Regions from separate parts of the Homo sapiens genome. Here all the other regions are linked to region 1. The links are contacts of gene promoters, found by promoter capture Hi-C in blood cells and fetal thymus (Javierre and others, 2016). All regions are on one chromosome and are shown on one strand. Each heading gives the region's core, a stretch centred on a gene start or on the middle of the fragment in contact. The rest is flanking DNA. Distances are from core to core; before and after follow the strand shown.

The links. Contacts are between HindIII fragments. The CHiCAGO score rates a contact against its expected background, and 5 or more counts as called.
Region 2: the fragment with the promoter of RPL7 here is called in contact with the fragment with the promoter of NCOA2 in region 1 in 9 of 17 cell types (naive CD8 T cells, total CD4 T cells, activated CD4 T cells and 6 more); the score reaches 13.4 in naive CD8 T cells.
Region 3: a contact is called between a fragment that was not itself captured here and the fragment with the promoter of NCOA2 in region 1, in 1 of 17 cell types (naive CD8 T cells). The highest score is 5.2, in naive CD8 T cells.

What each region holds. Positions count from the first base shown.
Region 1 is chr8:70,401,548-70,406,495 of GRCh38, forward strand. It overlaps NCOA2 (nuclear receptor coactivator 2), which reads right to left and starts at 2,261. Exons shown (of 23, transcript NM_006540.4): 1 at 2,153-2,261. RefSeq lists silencers at 858-1,517, 1,548-1,837, 1,878-2,187, 2,878-3,037 and an enhancer at 2,658-2,777. The HindIII fragment of the contact is 4,231 bases long and covers 1-3,553 here.
Region 2 is chr8:73,291,556-73,296,503 of GRCh38, forward strand. It overlaps RPL7 (ribosomal protein L7), which reads right to left and starts at 2,078. Exons shown (of 7, transcript NM_000971.4): 1 at 2,044-2,078; 2 at 1,134-1,242; 3 at 684-850; 4 at 218-355; 5 at 1-106. The coding sequence starts at 2,057. It overlaps RDH10 (retinol dehydrogenase 10), which reads left to right and starts at 3,047. Exons shown (of 6, transcript NM_172037.5): 1 at 3,047-4,023. The coding sequence starts at 3,735. RefSeq lists enhancers at 1,330-2,038, 1,660-1,709, 1,720-2,079, 2,039-2,746, 2,200-2,689 and a silencer at 2,780-3,739. The HindIII fragment of the contact is 6,100 bases long and covers 828-4,948 here.
Region 3 is chr8:73,011,599-73,016,546 of GRCh38, forward strand. It overlaps TERF1 (telomeric repeat binding factor 1), which reads left to right. Exons shown (of 10, transcript NM_017489.3): 2 at 2,297-2,392. Among named protein-coding and RNA genes, the nearest start is that of TERF1, 5.2 kb to the left of the region's middle. The HindIII fragment of the contact is 4,417 bases long and covers 420-4,836 here.

The DNA of each region.
Region 1 (4,948 bases), core at 1,011-3,510:
ACTTTTTTTTTTAATGACATCCCCAATGCCGAAGTTTCAAGTACACTTTGGGAACTGGAGCTCTAATTAAACAAGAAACCAGTGAAGCCATTATGAACAATGATGCTTTCTACTACCAATAATCAGTTGACGTGATACTGCTCCCATGCCTTCATTCTCAGGGTTCCCTTTCAAATTTCATTGTCCCCATTCTGGCATAGCTGAGTGAAACCGAGATAAGAGGTAAACGGGTAACTTCTGTCTTCTGTGACCCTTAGCATGTAAACCGGACGCTGAGGTCCAGGACATGATCACTACAGCATATGCCATTTTAGAAACCGGCCTCGGTGAGTTACTGCCACATCCTAAAGTGGCTTTAGACTTCGTCGTGTCTAAGACAACGTCTATTTCGGTACGAAAGACATACAGGACCTCGAGTGCCTCGGCAGCCTCTGCGGGTCGGAGCCCCTATAAGTGACACAACCCCAGAAATCAAGGAGCGGGTGACTCGGGGATGGACAAGAGTAGCTGGCTCTCAGCGTCTCCATGACTCCCCCGCCCCGCATGCAACTCTGCTCTAACTGGTCAGGAGAAACCCCGCCCCCTTCCTTCCTCCGGTCCGCACGATTGGCTCACCGACACCCGGCAGGTCAGCTCCCTGCCTTCGATTGGCTCACTGCCCCATCAGTCAGACGCACCGAGATTCGGGTCGGTGGGAGGGGAAGGCGTCGGAGGAGGTGGAGAGGGAGTGGGATTAGAGGACGAGGTGGCGGAGGAAGGTGTTCAGGCTCGGTCTCTGGTTTGGGAAAGTTTCCCCTACCAGTGACGGACCCAGAACGCGGGAGGCCCAGTCCAGCTCCGGGCCAGCGGAAGGGGGCTCCAGTCCCCGATTCCCGCCCCTCGGTCCCGCAGGCCCCGGAAACCACTAGAGGGAGGGGAAGAGGGAGGGGCCATCTAACCAGGGACCGACCCACCCCCGGTCTCGGAAGAGGCGCCTCTGGGACTCCCCCGAGGGGAGGAGGCGGGGAGCGCAGCCGGCAGCGACGACCCCGGCCCCCTCCCCCAGCACCCCCCAGGGGCCCGAGAGGGCCGGGTCCCCGTGCCCGGGGCGTGACCGTCGCGAGGCGGCCACAGGGCCCCTCCCGCTTCCCGCCTGGGGCCCCGAGGGCCTGTCCCTTCAGGGGCGGAGAGAAGGGGGCGAGAAAAGGGGGCGCTGGCGAGCCAACCCGGAACCTCCCGGTCCGCCTCCCGCCCCCGGCCCCGGCCCCAGCGCGCCTCCTGCATACACGCCCGCACCCAGAAAGTTCAGTCAGGGGCGAGCCCGGCTCGGCGCCGCCGGGGCCCGGCCCCCGGCTCCCCGCCCCCACCACGGCCCGGCCTGCTCGGCCCCAGCGCGCCGCCCGCCCCGCCCGCCGCAGCTCCTTCCCGTCCGCCCGCGGTGCTCGGCGCCCCTCGCCCCCCACCCCCGGGGCTGACACGGGCCCGGGCCACCCGCCGGGCCGCGGCTCCCCTTCCCCGCCCCGCGCTGCAGCTCGCCGGCCGCCCCGACACCCCGCTTCACCTTCACACACCCCCAGCACTTCCCGAGTCCTGCCTCCCCTCGCCCGGCTCCCACTCTCCGCTGCAGCCGCTCCGCGCTTCCATTAAAGAATGCACCTTCCCAGGATTCACCTTCTCGGCTCTGCCGCGCTGCCCCCGAGGGGTTAGAGCCTCGGTCTCCGCCGACCCCGCACCGGGCTGGGCAATGGGCACTCGCTCCTCGGGGCGGGGGCCGCGCCCGCACCCCCGGCCGCGCCTCGGCGCTCACCTCTCGCCCGCGCCGCGGGCTGCAGCCTCCGCCCGCCTCGCGCTCCGGGACTCGTCTCCTGAGCTCTCGCAAGGCGCTGGAGCGCCTCCTTTCTCTCCCGGGGACTCCGCGTCTCCCCGTCGCTTCCCGCCCTCCCCACCCCCAAGCCCCAACTCCCCAGCGTCGCTGCGCCTCCGGGATGCAACTCCCGTTTTCCGCGCACTCCGGCGGCGGTCCCCGCACACAAAAACAGCCTCTCGGAGGCGCACGGCTCTGTCGGAGCTCGGCGCAGGAAGGGCAGTCGCGGCCGGGGGTGGGGACGCGGCGCCCCCCGCCTGCCGCCCGCCCCCCGCCCGCCCTCGCGGCCCCGGGGGAAGGCGCGGTTACCGGCTCGGGTCGGTCACGCCGTCAGGTGCCGGCTGCCGTCGGCGCTGACCTTCGCCGCCGAAGCTGTAGCCGAGGCTGCGGCCGCCATGTTCCCGTGTTAATAACTGCTGCCTGGTTGTTTATTTCAATGGAGATCCTCCCCCAACTCCCTCCTCCTCCTCCTCCTCCTCCTCCTCCTCCGCGTCTCCGCACTTGCGGAGAGACAGACAGCGCGAGCTCGCGAGCAGGGGAGGGGGCTCGGGAGCCAGGCCGTCCCTCCCTCTGCCTCCCCGGCAGTGGCCGCCGCCAAGTCCTGTCACCGGGAAAAGGACGGGGCGGAAACTTGCCTCTCGCGCCCCCGAGGAAGGGGCAAAGGTGGACGCAGGGTTGTCCGGGGAGCAGCCCCTGGCCGCGGGGTCCGCAGCATCTCCGTCGGCAGAGTCCTCTGAGAAGGCGGCCCGGGGAGAGGTGAAGAAGAGTAAGGGGACAGGGGACAAAATGGGTGACTGTGGTAGAGGGAGGGTGACCTAGAGGTGACTGGAACTGAAGAGAGAGTCAACAGAGGACTGCATGGGAGGGCAAAGGGCAATGCCAAAAAGAAAACTAGCGACTGGGACGGGCCTGGGCCGCTGAGTTAGAGGCAGTGGGGCCTGGGGGCTGCAGACGGCAGGGACGGTGCCCCAGGACGAAGATCGGGGAGAGCCGAGTTCCAGGGTCGCCAGCAGAGGACCCTCGCGCCCGTCCGGCCGGACCCTTCGGCCAGCACCCTGCACCCCCTCGGGCGCACCTCACCCTACCCAACTCCCGGTCCTGCCGCTGCTCCCCGGAGGCGCCCCGCATCCGTCAAGTCCCCTACGGCTCCAACAGGGAGAGGCTTCTCCCATTGCAGTCCTAGCTCCAGAGGGGATGGAGAGGCGCGACTGTGGGAGCTGGAAGGGGCACCACCCGGCAATTGCGGGATAAAGCAAATGCTGCACACAGAGTGTGAAACTTAACCTGGTTGAGAATTTTCGGCACATCATGAAATCATAAGTTTGTATTGGAAAGTCCATTCTCTAGACATCCGTGAACAAAGTACTGAGGGGACGTAGGAGATTGGCACTGAAAATGCGAGAACCCCCATTTAAGTGTTACTTAGACCAATCTGTTTTACGCTTTGGAAAAGCAAGTTTTTTTTCCAACTTATACGGTAATTAGTTGAAAAAAAAAACTTTTGTTTAATGGCAGTTATCAAACTATGAGAGGAACATATTCCCTGATTTTAATCTTATAATGAGAAAGGTCACTTGCGGTAGACAATAAGAGTGTTTATTGAACACTTACTGTGAATCTGACTGTGCTAGGTGATGTATATATGCTATAGGCCTTAATCCTCAAACCTTCCGAAGTCATTGCCGCTTTTCACTTCACACAAAAAATTGAAGCTTAAAGTAATTTGCCCAGGGTCACAGCCAGTAGTTGGAGAGGATGTGAGCCCAGTTCTGGTGAGCTCCAAAGCCCATGCTTTTAAACATGTCTTCATCCTAAAATTTGTGGGTGTACCGCCAATTTTATTTGGGAAAAGAATAAAAAAAATGTGTGGGGTGTGTGTGTCTGTGTTTGTTTGTGGATAGAAAATGCTTGGAAGCCTATAACAACAAATGTTAGCGCTGGGGAGTGTAAGAAGTGGGTGATGAGGCACTTCCACTTTTTATTTTGCACACCTATCTAATGTTTGAAATGTTTGCATTGACTATGTATTAATGTATATTTTTAAAGGTTTTTTTTTTTTTTTTTTTTTTTTTTTTTTAGCTAGCTGGAATAATAGAATTATGTTCCCAAAGCGTTGAGAGGAAATGGAGAGTTTGTTTATGGCCTATCTTCTGCTAATACCAGTCTGTAGCTTGTCTACAATGGGGTAGTAGTCACCTGAGGTTTGTCACAATTCTGAACTCCCGATTTGCTTTCCTGTCCTCACCCCCAACTGTGAGTTATCAGGAGTTGTGATAATAAATAAATAAATAAATAAAAATTTAAAAAAAAGATTCTCCTTCTTGCTTGCTATCCCTCCCATTTTGGCAGAAGTCCAGAGTCTATCAGTCCTCTGCAATCGTAGATTTCACACTTTTTAAAACTACCCATGATACCTCTGCAAACAAATGACTCCCCCCATTGCATTCCCGTATTACCCAATAAAACGTCTTACGACGGCTGAAGACTTTTTCTTACAAGAAATAAACAAAAACGTCTGACAGCATAGTAGATGAGTTCCATGCCCAAGTGCTACTCAATTGCCTGAGCTTGAATTGAATTGTGTGACTTAAACGCGCTCTGGTACAATCTCTGGGTGCCCTCTGAACTTCAGGCTCTTGCTGTAACAGTAGTCTGTCTTGCACTAGAGTTGTTTATATGTTTGTCTTTCTCTTTCACTAGATTGTAAGTGCAACAGAGCCCAAGACCTAGTCTTGTTCTTGTTTGTACATGCTATAGCACCTAACAAGGAATGTATGATGTTTGTTGTTTCATTGAATTTGTGAAATATAAATAATAGTATCTATTCCGATCCTCATGTCCTCTTCCCCACCTCATCTTCCAATCCCTTGCTCATAAAACATGTTTATAAAAAACATCTTCCATACTTAGAAAGAACTTTGATTCCCATGAGACCTCAGAACAATTGTTTATTAAAACTAGCCATAATTTTTAGTGAATCATCACTATGATAATGTAAAATGAAAAGGTAGAGGAGGCGGTAAATAAGTTGGCTCAATGACACAAATTAAGAAAGGAAGAAGAAGGAAAGAAAAAAGAAGGCAAAGATATAGGAACTAGGTATAT
Region 2 (4,948 bases), core at 828-3,327, 2.9 Mb after region 1:
AGATCGAGCAATCAAAGCGTTATCTGTCAAAGCAATTCGCTTCTTATTGATTTTGCCATAACCACGCTTGTAGATTAGTTCATTTACTGACTTCAGATTGGGGTACCTGAAGTGAAAAAGCAAACATAAATAAGGTGACCACTGTTAAAACATCTAAAATTCATGTTGCTACATAACCAATTTATCAAATAGAAATCAAAGGAGAAAAGAGACTTACCCCCATGCAATATATGGCTCTACAATCCTCAGCATGTTAATCGAAGCCTTGTTGAGCTTCACAAAGGTTCCATTGAAGATTTGACGAAGGCGAAGAAGCTGCAACACCTTTCGAACCTTTGGGCTCACTCCATTGATACTGTGGTGAAAACGGACCAGAAATGCATTTGCCTTTCATCGAAATTTTTATTAATACTAACCATTATAGTTTTGAATATCGAATCCTACCTAAACAGATAGGAATCCTCTCATGTTACACACTGAATTTCTGTATTCTATTAAGAGAAGGGATAGGAGCTTGGGGAACATGGCTTGCAACTAAACCATTAGTGATCAGCACCCTCCTTGTTCTAGCTTCCCCTAAAATATTGTTACTCCGGTGTTTCAGAATCAGGGCTCCCAGAAGTAATGTGAAGGTTTTTTTTTTTTTTCCCATTCAAACCCGAATGCAGTAAAACTGAACTTACCCTCTGATTCTGATGACAAACGCCAATTTGGGTTCTGCAGGTACATAGAAGTTGCCAGCTTTTCTTGCCATCCTCGCCATTCGAATTTCAGTTCTGTACATCTGCCTATATTCCTTGTGATAGTGCTTTGCTTTTTCATAGATAAGCTTCCTCCTTGCCTTTCGAAGCTGAAAACCAATAATCAGTTATTCATAATTTTTAGCTCAATCACAATTAGCAATGCCAATCATTAAAAAGAAAACTACAACATGTTTCCTTTAAATCTTTTCTTGCCACAGTATGCAATTACATCCCCCACCAAAAAACCCCACTACCTTCAGATTGTAACATTAGGTAGCTAAGCAATTACTCAGTACAGTTAGGAAGTAAATCTTGCCAAGAACATTCACCTCATCCTCAATCCCAATAAGGCGCCTCCTTATGTGCTAGTGCCTCAAAAAGTTTACTTACCATCTTTTGGGCAAACTTCTTTCTCAGGCGCTTGATCTTCAGCTCTGCGAAATTCCTTCGCTTTTTCTTAAGGGTTTCTGGCACAGCAGGAACCTCCTTCTTCTTCTCTCTAACGTTAATAAACAAAAATGTTATCAATAGCTCAAAAAGCTCACAGCGCTGTATTACTCCCGTACTGAGCAGTGTTGTTTACCAGAAATGCTGTCACTGACTTTAGTCACTAGTAACTTTACTTGCTCTGGCATGCTACAGTGTACGATGCATATTTTAGCTCCATGTCAATAACCTTTAACACCATGTTGCCTAAAACGCAATCACAAATATGACAATAGCAATACGTTTTTCCCTATTTCAACCAAGAGGCCCGGCCTCCGACGACTAATTAAAAAAAAAAACAAAAAAAACACACCAACACCCGAATAACAAAATGTACTAGCTGAAAGACTACTGCAAGGCACTGACCCCGAGACTTTAAGCGCAAAAATTAAAAAATAAAAATAAAAAAAAAACAAGCCACCACCACTCTGGTTCAATCAGGATCCACATGTTGAAAGCAAAGGCCTGGCGGCAGGGAGGCCTGTACCAAGCACCAGCCAAGGACGAACACAATTCAGAGGTTCTGCGCCTCCCCCGAAAGACCCTCTACCGAGGACTGGGCCGTCAGCCAACCGACGGGTTCCACACACATTCCAACCCGACATCTCGTTCCCGGGATCTCCAAAACCTCCGTCCTAAGACCGCCCGCATCCCAACCCTAGCCTCAGGTCCCCACTGGTGTCACACAGCGTTCACAATCAAGCAGGGAGGTGGGCAAAGGTGCAAGCTACGGCCAGAGAGAGAAAAAGTGACACAAAAAGTATCTGGCTCTGGAGATGGAGAAGGATTCTCAAGAGGACCAGAAGCAACTCACTCTACACCCTCCATGGTTCCAGCCGGAAAAAGAGGAAGTTGGCGCATGCGTACTGTCCACTTAAAGACTTCGCGAGAGAAGCCCCACGACTCATAGGTGTCTTAGAATAAGCCGGAAAAGAATCCAGAACTAAAAAGCCGCCTTGCAGACGCAAAGAACTCCCTGATTTAGCCTCTTTCAACAAACTTTCGGGTAAAACTTGTTTGAAGAAAATATATGCATTTGATTAGACTTTTTAATCAATTCAAGAGCAAAGAGTGCTGACACCTTGGCAACTCCGGGTCCTAATCCCCAGGCTGCGCTGACAGGATTAGGCTCCGTTCCTCCCCATAATGTTCCCAGGACGAGCCTCATGGGGACGAACTACAAATCCCAGCATGCACCAGTCTTCGCCCGCCCGGCGGGAGGGCAACGGCTGACCAGGACCGCAGGCAAGCACCGCGGCGACGGTTCCAGCCAGGAAAATGAGAGCCTCTTGGGCCACGTTCCAAACGGCTAGCTGCAATTCGAAGTCACTTTTGGCCGCCCTCCCGGCTCCCTGCCGCGGTAGTCGCAGACTACACCCCTTTCGCCGCTCCGCGAGGTCCTTGTCGTCGCTCCAGCCCACAGGGCTGTCTTCCGCAGCGCCTGATCGCAGGCGGGGCGGTCTGGAGTGCTCTAGCTTACGAAAAGTGGCTAGCCAGGGACCAGTGGGGACCGGACGGCCGGAGGAGGATGGCCGGGGCTCTGCTGACTGCCGAGCTCGGCAGGCGGAGGCCAGGACACCCCACGGGAGGGGGCGTGAGCTGCGAAGGGAGGTGCGAGGAGGGCTGAGGTTGCGGCCACGGCCGTGTGAGAGGGGCTACCCGGCTCGGCTCCGCGGACGGCTGGCGGGCTGGGGGCTGGGCCGGGGGCGGGGTGCGCCCGGGGGCGGGGAGGCCGGGCGGAGGGAGGGCCGATGCCGAGGCTGGCGCGGGCTCTTCCCGGTCGCGGGGTTATATAGCGCGGAGCGTGGAGCCCGCTCAGAGCCGGCCCGGAGCGCTCTGACTTGCAAGCGGGCTGCGCTGCGGAGCCCAGTGCCCGAGTGACACCCGCGGAGAGTGCAGGGCCGGGGAACGCGAGCCCTCGGGGGCAGCTGCAAGGCGTTGGGCAGCGCTTGCCTGCGCCGAGCGAGTCTCCCCTTCCCGGCGCTCCGCCGCCCCGCACCCCACTCTCCCACCCTCTCGCAACTTGGGTCGAGTTGACAACTCCCGCGGCAGCCCGCTGGCCCGTGCCGCCTCCGCTGCGCACCCCTCCCCCGGGGTGAGAGGGAGCCGGCGCGCCGGTTCCGGGGACGCTCGGGCGGCAGCAGCTTGGCCATGAGGGCAGTTCGAGTAGTCTAACTCGCGGCTGTCACCGCCACTGCAGCGGAGCCGGCCGGCCGGGCGCTGCGGGACGGGCGGGCGGCTGCCGGCAGGAGGCGCCGAGCCGGGTGACTGCCGCGGCGGGCACAGTCCGGGGCCACAGCGCCGAGCCCGGGCGGGAGTGGCCCCGCGCAGGCAGGGAGCGGCGCCGCGCACTCCAACCCGGCGGGCACCTCGGGGGCGGGCGCGGGGCGCAGCCTTCTCGTCCCGGCCTCTGTGACAAGCGCCCCGGAGCCGGGAGCCCGATTGCCGGGCTCGGGGTGGGCGCGGACGCAGGCACTGGGCTCGTGCGGGGCCCCGGGCGTCGCGATGAACATCGTGGTGGAGTTCTTCGTGGTCACTTTCAAAGTGCTCTGGGCGTTCGTGCTGGCCGCGGCGCGCTGGCTGGTGCGGCCCAAGGAGAAGAGCGTGGCGGGCCAGGTGTGCCTCATCACCGGCGCCGGCAGCGGCCTGGGCCGCCTCTTCGCGCTGGAGTTCGCCCGGCGTCGGGCGCTGCTGGTGCTGTGGGACATCAACACGCAAAGCAACGAGGAGACGGCTGGCATGGTGCGCCACATCTACCGCGACCTGGAGGCGGCCGACGCCGCTGCGCTGCAAGGTAACCTGGACCCGCGCGGGAGCATTGTTGGGTCAAGCCTCTTTCCACCCCGCGCCCTACCACGGCAGGCCCCAAACCCCGCTGCCTGGTCAGCCCCGCTGTGGAGGAAAGGAACACCCCACCGGTCTTTTGGGAGACGAGTGGAATTCGCTTCCTGATAAAGGAACGCGATCACTTCTGTATTACCAGGGAGAAGGTGCCCTGTCCTCGCGGAGGTTCGGTCTCTGGGGACCACGGCGGGGGGAGGGGGCGGGTTTCCTAAGCCCTCCGGGGTAGGGAAGGCGGAGGGAACTTGTTACCACAGGTTTGGATCCCAAAGAAATGTCTTGCTCCGACTTACAAGCGGCGCGATGGGAAACTGAAGCGTCTTTGGGAAGTTGTTCTGACTAGACTGAAGAAGTGTCTGTCTTACTGTGGTCTGAACCCCTTAGACGAGGGCAGTATTGACGGTTTCATTATAAGTTTAGCCTGAGGAACATAATTACATTGTTTCGCCAGCGATAAGTGCTTTAGTTACATTCCCTGAGCGTGATTGAAAGACGCCTTGCTTCCTAAGAGAAAGCTCTTGGAGGATTTAGGCTTCGTTGTAAATTTCTTCCATGTTTTTGGTCACCCCAGAAAATCTGCATTTCTGAATACTTATTAACTAACCTGAATCTGAGTTGTTTTTTTTTTTAAGCCAAAGCAAAGTCCATAACCAACCATAAATATTGGTTCAGGAAATTTGATAATGGCTGTTGGTTTTTAACAAAATTTTTCATTTTTAGGGAAAACATTTACCTGTACGGAGAAAATTGACTTGGGCACTTCTCCCCTGTATTGATAATTTATCATCAAACTTATTGATACCTGCGTTTTTAATTTAAGGGTGAAAATGTACCATTTTCATTGGTGGTATGGAGGTGTAGCAAATACAGATTTTTGT
Region 3 (4,948 bases), core at 1,378-3,877, 2.6 Mb after region 1:
GATTGTAGCTAGATCTTCTCAATAACTTGTAGCTTTTACTTCAGCACTTGCTGCTTCACCTTGCACTTCTATGTCACAGAGATGGCTTCTTTTCTTAAACCTCATGAACCAACAACCTCTGCTAGCTTCCAACTTTTCTTTTGCAATTTTCTTACCTCTGTCAGCCTTCTTAGACTTGCTCTGGATTAGGCTGTGGCTTAAAGGAATGTTGTGGCTGGTTTGATTTTTTTTTTTCTATCCAAGTCAAACTTTCTCCATATGAGCAATAGGCTCTTTTACTTTCTTATCATTTATGTGTTCAGTGGATTAGAACTTTTAATTTCCTTTGAGAACTTTTCCTTTGTATTAACAACTTGGCTGTTAGACACAAGAGGCCTATGTTTCAGCCTATCATGGCATTTGACATCCTTTCCTCACTAAGCTTAATCATTTCTAGCTTTTGATTTAAAGTGAATGACTTGCAACTCTTCCTTTCACTGAAACACTTGGAGGGCATGTAGAGTTACTCATTGGCCTAATTTCAATCTTGTTGTGTTTCAGGAGATAAGGAGGCCTGAAGAGAGGGAGTAAGGGGAAGGGCTGGTCAGTGGAGCAGTTAGAACACACACAATATTTATGGAATAAGTTTGTGTCTTATGGGCATGATTTGTGGTACTCCAGAACCTTTACAATAGTAACATCAGAGATTATTGATCACAGACCACCATACAGATATAATAATAATGAAAAAGTTTGAAATATTGCAAGAATTATCAAAATGTGACAGGTACAGGTACTGTTAGAAAAATGAGCCAGACGCGGTGGCTCATGCCTGTAATCCCAGCACTTTGGGAGGCTGAGGCGGGCAGATCACGAGGTCAGGAGATCGAGACCATCCTGGCTAACATGGTGAAACCCCGTCTCTACTAAAAAAATACAAAAAAAATTAGCCAGCCTTGGTGGTGGGCGCCTGTAGTCCCAGCTATGCGGGAGGCTGAGGCAGAAGAATGGCATGAACCTGGGAGGCGGAGCTTGCAGTGAGTGGAGATGCACCATTGCACTCCAGCCTGGGCGACAGAGCGTGACTCTGTCTCAAAAAAAAAAAAAGGTGCCGTTAGACTTGGCTCAAGCTGGGCTGCGGTAAACTTTCAATTTGTAAAAAACATGCAATCTGCAAAGCACAATAAAATGAGGTATGTCTGCACCTATCCTTCGTGGTACTCATTAAAATTTTAATTAGTTACTTACATAACTTTTTGTTTAATTGTGTCTTCTCAGATTAAAACCTTCATGGGGGCAGAGACTGGCTATCTGAAGTCATCACCTCCTAACACAGGCTGGCAGTAGATGTTCAGTAAATATTGAATGGCTTGTGTTTAAATTCTATATAAATTTTGTGCTCTCTTAAAATCCTGTTAAATTCTATTATGACTGTGTATGGTCCAGATAATCTCTGGTGTAGCATAAGATTATGTTAGAATTGAGGGAGGAAATTGGGTAAAAATATATTCGTCTTATATGCTTAATTGCTACAGAATTGCTTTTCAGTTTGCTAGTTATTTAAGTTTTTTATATATACACCAACCAAGCCCTGGGTTAGGTATAATGGTAGTAGTGGCACCTTCAGGTCTTAGGTTAGACATTATTTCCTCAGAGAAGCCTTCCCTGACACCTCCTCTGTGCAGAAGATACTTAAACACACAGATTTCTTGTTATATGCTTCCAAAGCATTCTGTACTTGTCTTTTTAAAGTTTTCACAACATTTTTACTTCAGTAGTTCAATCGCTTGTCTCATTGCTACATGGTAAAAAGCTCACTGTGGTCCAGGAGTATGGCTTACTTGGTATTGTATGTAATCACTGCCTGACTCAACATCTGGGTGGGCATTCAAGTTTGGGGAGGTTAATATTAATAGGTTTTAAACTTTGTAAGCTAAACAGACTCACTTAACTGAAACCTAGATAGAAATAATATAAAATATTTTCTATTATATGAAATGTTTCTAGGTATAAGTTTCCAACCAATGATTTTACACATTTTACAATTTGTATCTAAATCTTTTTTGTTAATGTAGACTGCTACTTGTGAAAGAATTTTCAACAATTTTTATTCTACATGTGAAAGTTATATTTTGTAAGAAATGTCTTCATTGCTATTCTTTTTTTTTGTTCTGAATTTTAATCAGATCTTAAATGTACAACTCTAAATTTATGATAATTTTTACAATATGTTTGTAGCCTATTACTCAACAAACCACACAGTGGCACTACTGGATCAAGTTTGATTTTAATAAAATTTACTTTTTTTCTTTTTTAGCTATTATTCATGGACTATCCAGTCTAACAGCTTGCCAGTTGAGAACGATATACATATGTCAGTTTTTGACAAGAATTGCAGCAGGAAAAACCCTTGGTAAATATGTTTTTTTATTTTATATTGGAAATATTTCAATCTGTTTCTAATGTAAGACAATGGGAAGAAACAGACGTTTTTGGGGGAAGTTTGCCTACAAGTGTCTGGTGCATAGGGGTGTGGGGGGGTGGTGTGTGTGTGTGTGTACACATACAGTCATATCTAAAGCAAGTAAAAGAAATGTAGTCCCTGTCATCTTAGAACATTGGTTCTCAAACTTTAGCCTGCTCCAGAATTACTTAAAGGGCTTATTAAAAAAAAAAAAACATAGTGCTGAGTCTCCCTAACTCTCATGAGTTTCAGATTCAGTAGGATGGGTATGGGGCTCTGAAATATACATTTCTAATAAATTCCCAGGTGATTCTGATGCTACTCTTGGGGAAGTGTGTTTCATTGACTCTATTTGCTAACTTTGTGGTGACTCCAATCATACACACTCTGTTTTTACTGGCAACTATTATATTTGAAACCTTTTATTTGAACTTGATGCCAGCGCTTACGTAAGAAGTACAGTTTATAGCTGTAATCTCTCTCCCTTGTCTCTGTAGTTCCATTTTAGATTGTAATGGGCAAGGCTGATTCAGTTTATCAGTAATGGCTGGTATTTACAACATGGTCATTTTAAAAGGCTATTTGATGGAAATAATTTTGTATTTAGATTGGTTTTTATAATTTACAAAATACTTTTCCAACAATCCTGAGTAGTGGGCAGTACTTACATAAAACTGCTTGCTTATTGAAGTGTTGTCTTACATAAAATCCCAGTGTATTAGCACCACTGTCAAGGCCTTCACTAAAGTATCTCTGGCTGATGTAGTCTGCTTTGTTTGGGGGGTGAGGGTAGGTCTGGAGTTGGTGCCAGGACCATAAATGGATAGAACTAGATAGAGGCAGAATAGTTGTGAAAGAGACAGAGCCATAGGTAGGCCTGGGCCAGTTGCTGGAGAAGTAGCAGGCTGGAGCAGAATTCCAGACCATGCAGACTATAAGTTGACACTGTTGTTAACAGGGTTGTTTTCTACATTAAGGTGGAAAAGTATTCTAAAGTGCCTGGCAGTGCTTTACACATAGCAGTTGTTCAGCACATCTTAGTTGCTTCCTGGATAACCTTTTCTCCAAAAAAGGCAGGGGGGAATCCAGATTTTATGTGTGATCTCATGGTTTAATCTTGGAATTTACCAGGATACTCTTTTGGATATATCCTAGATATAATAGGCCAGGGTCAGCTGTCAAGAATCAATGTATTTCACCATAATGCACTAAACTGAGGCAGCATTTAAAATTTTATGTATTGGATTTTTGGCTATACATAACCCTTTTGCTTTTTTTTTTTTTTTTTTAATTTTGCTCTATAGTGGCACTGCCTAATAGAGATATGTGAGCCACATGTCTAATTTAAAATTTTCTAATAGCTATGTTAAGAAAAGTAGGCCAGGCATAGTGACTCACACCTGTAATCCCAGTACTTTGGGAGGCCTAGACAGGAGGATCGCTTGAGCCTAAGAATTTGACACCAGCCTAGGCAACATAGCGAGACCCTGTCTCTACAAAAAATTTAAAAAATTGGCTGGGCGTGGTGATTCACGCCTGTAATCCCAGCACTTTGGGAGGCCGAGGTGAGCGGATCACGAGGCCAGGCAATAAAGACCATCCTTGCTAACGTGGTGAAACCCCGTCTCTACTAAAAATACAAAAAAAAATAAAAATAAAAAGTTAACCACGTGTGGTCCTCTGGAGACTGAGGTAGGATCGTTTGAGCCCAGGAGGTTGAGGCTGTGGTTAGCTGTGATTGTGCCACTTCACTTCAGCCTGAGTGACAGAATGAAATCCTGTCATGAAATTTAGAAATTCCCATTCCAGCAGGTGTAGCTAAAAAATAATAATGATAATTAAAATAGGTGGAATTAATTTTGATAATCTTATTTAACTCAATATTTCTCAAACACTATGTCAACAAGTAGTCAGTGTAAAAAATGTTAGTAAGGCCAGGCACATGGCTCACACCTGTAATCCCAGCTCTGGGAGGCTGAGGTGGGTGGATCACTTGAGCCCACGAGTTTAAGGCTGCAGTGAGCTATGATCACACCACTGCACCCCAACCTGGGCAGCACAGCAAGGCCCCCATCTCTTAAAAAAAATCAAATGAGATATTTTACCTTTTTTTGGAGTAAGTCTTTGAAATCTCATGTGTACTTTATACTTAAGGTGCATCTCAATTCAAACTAGCCATATTTTAGCTGTGCAGTAATCATGTATGGCTAGTAGCTGTGCAGTAATCATGTATGGCTAGTAGCTACCATATTGGGTTTAGTCTCCTACCCCACATAGGTTTGACAAGATTGGACATGTTTGGGGTGATGTGGCTGTAGACCCCCACGTAGCTCTGAAATACAGCAGATATCTTAAAGGGGAAATGCTTGTCATCCTCCTCTTATGGAACTTTAAGCTTTTTTTTTTTTTTTTAGCCAGGGTGTCTCTCTGGCCCAGGCTGGAATGCAGTGGTGCCATCATAGTTTATTGCAGACTCAAACTCTTGAGCTCAAGTGATCCTCCTGC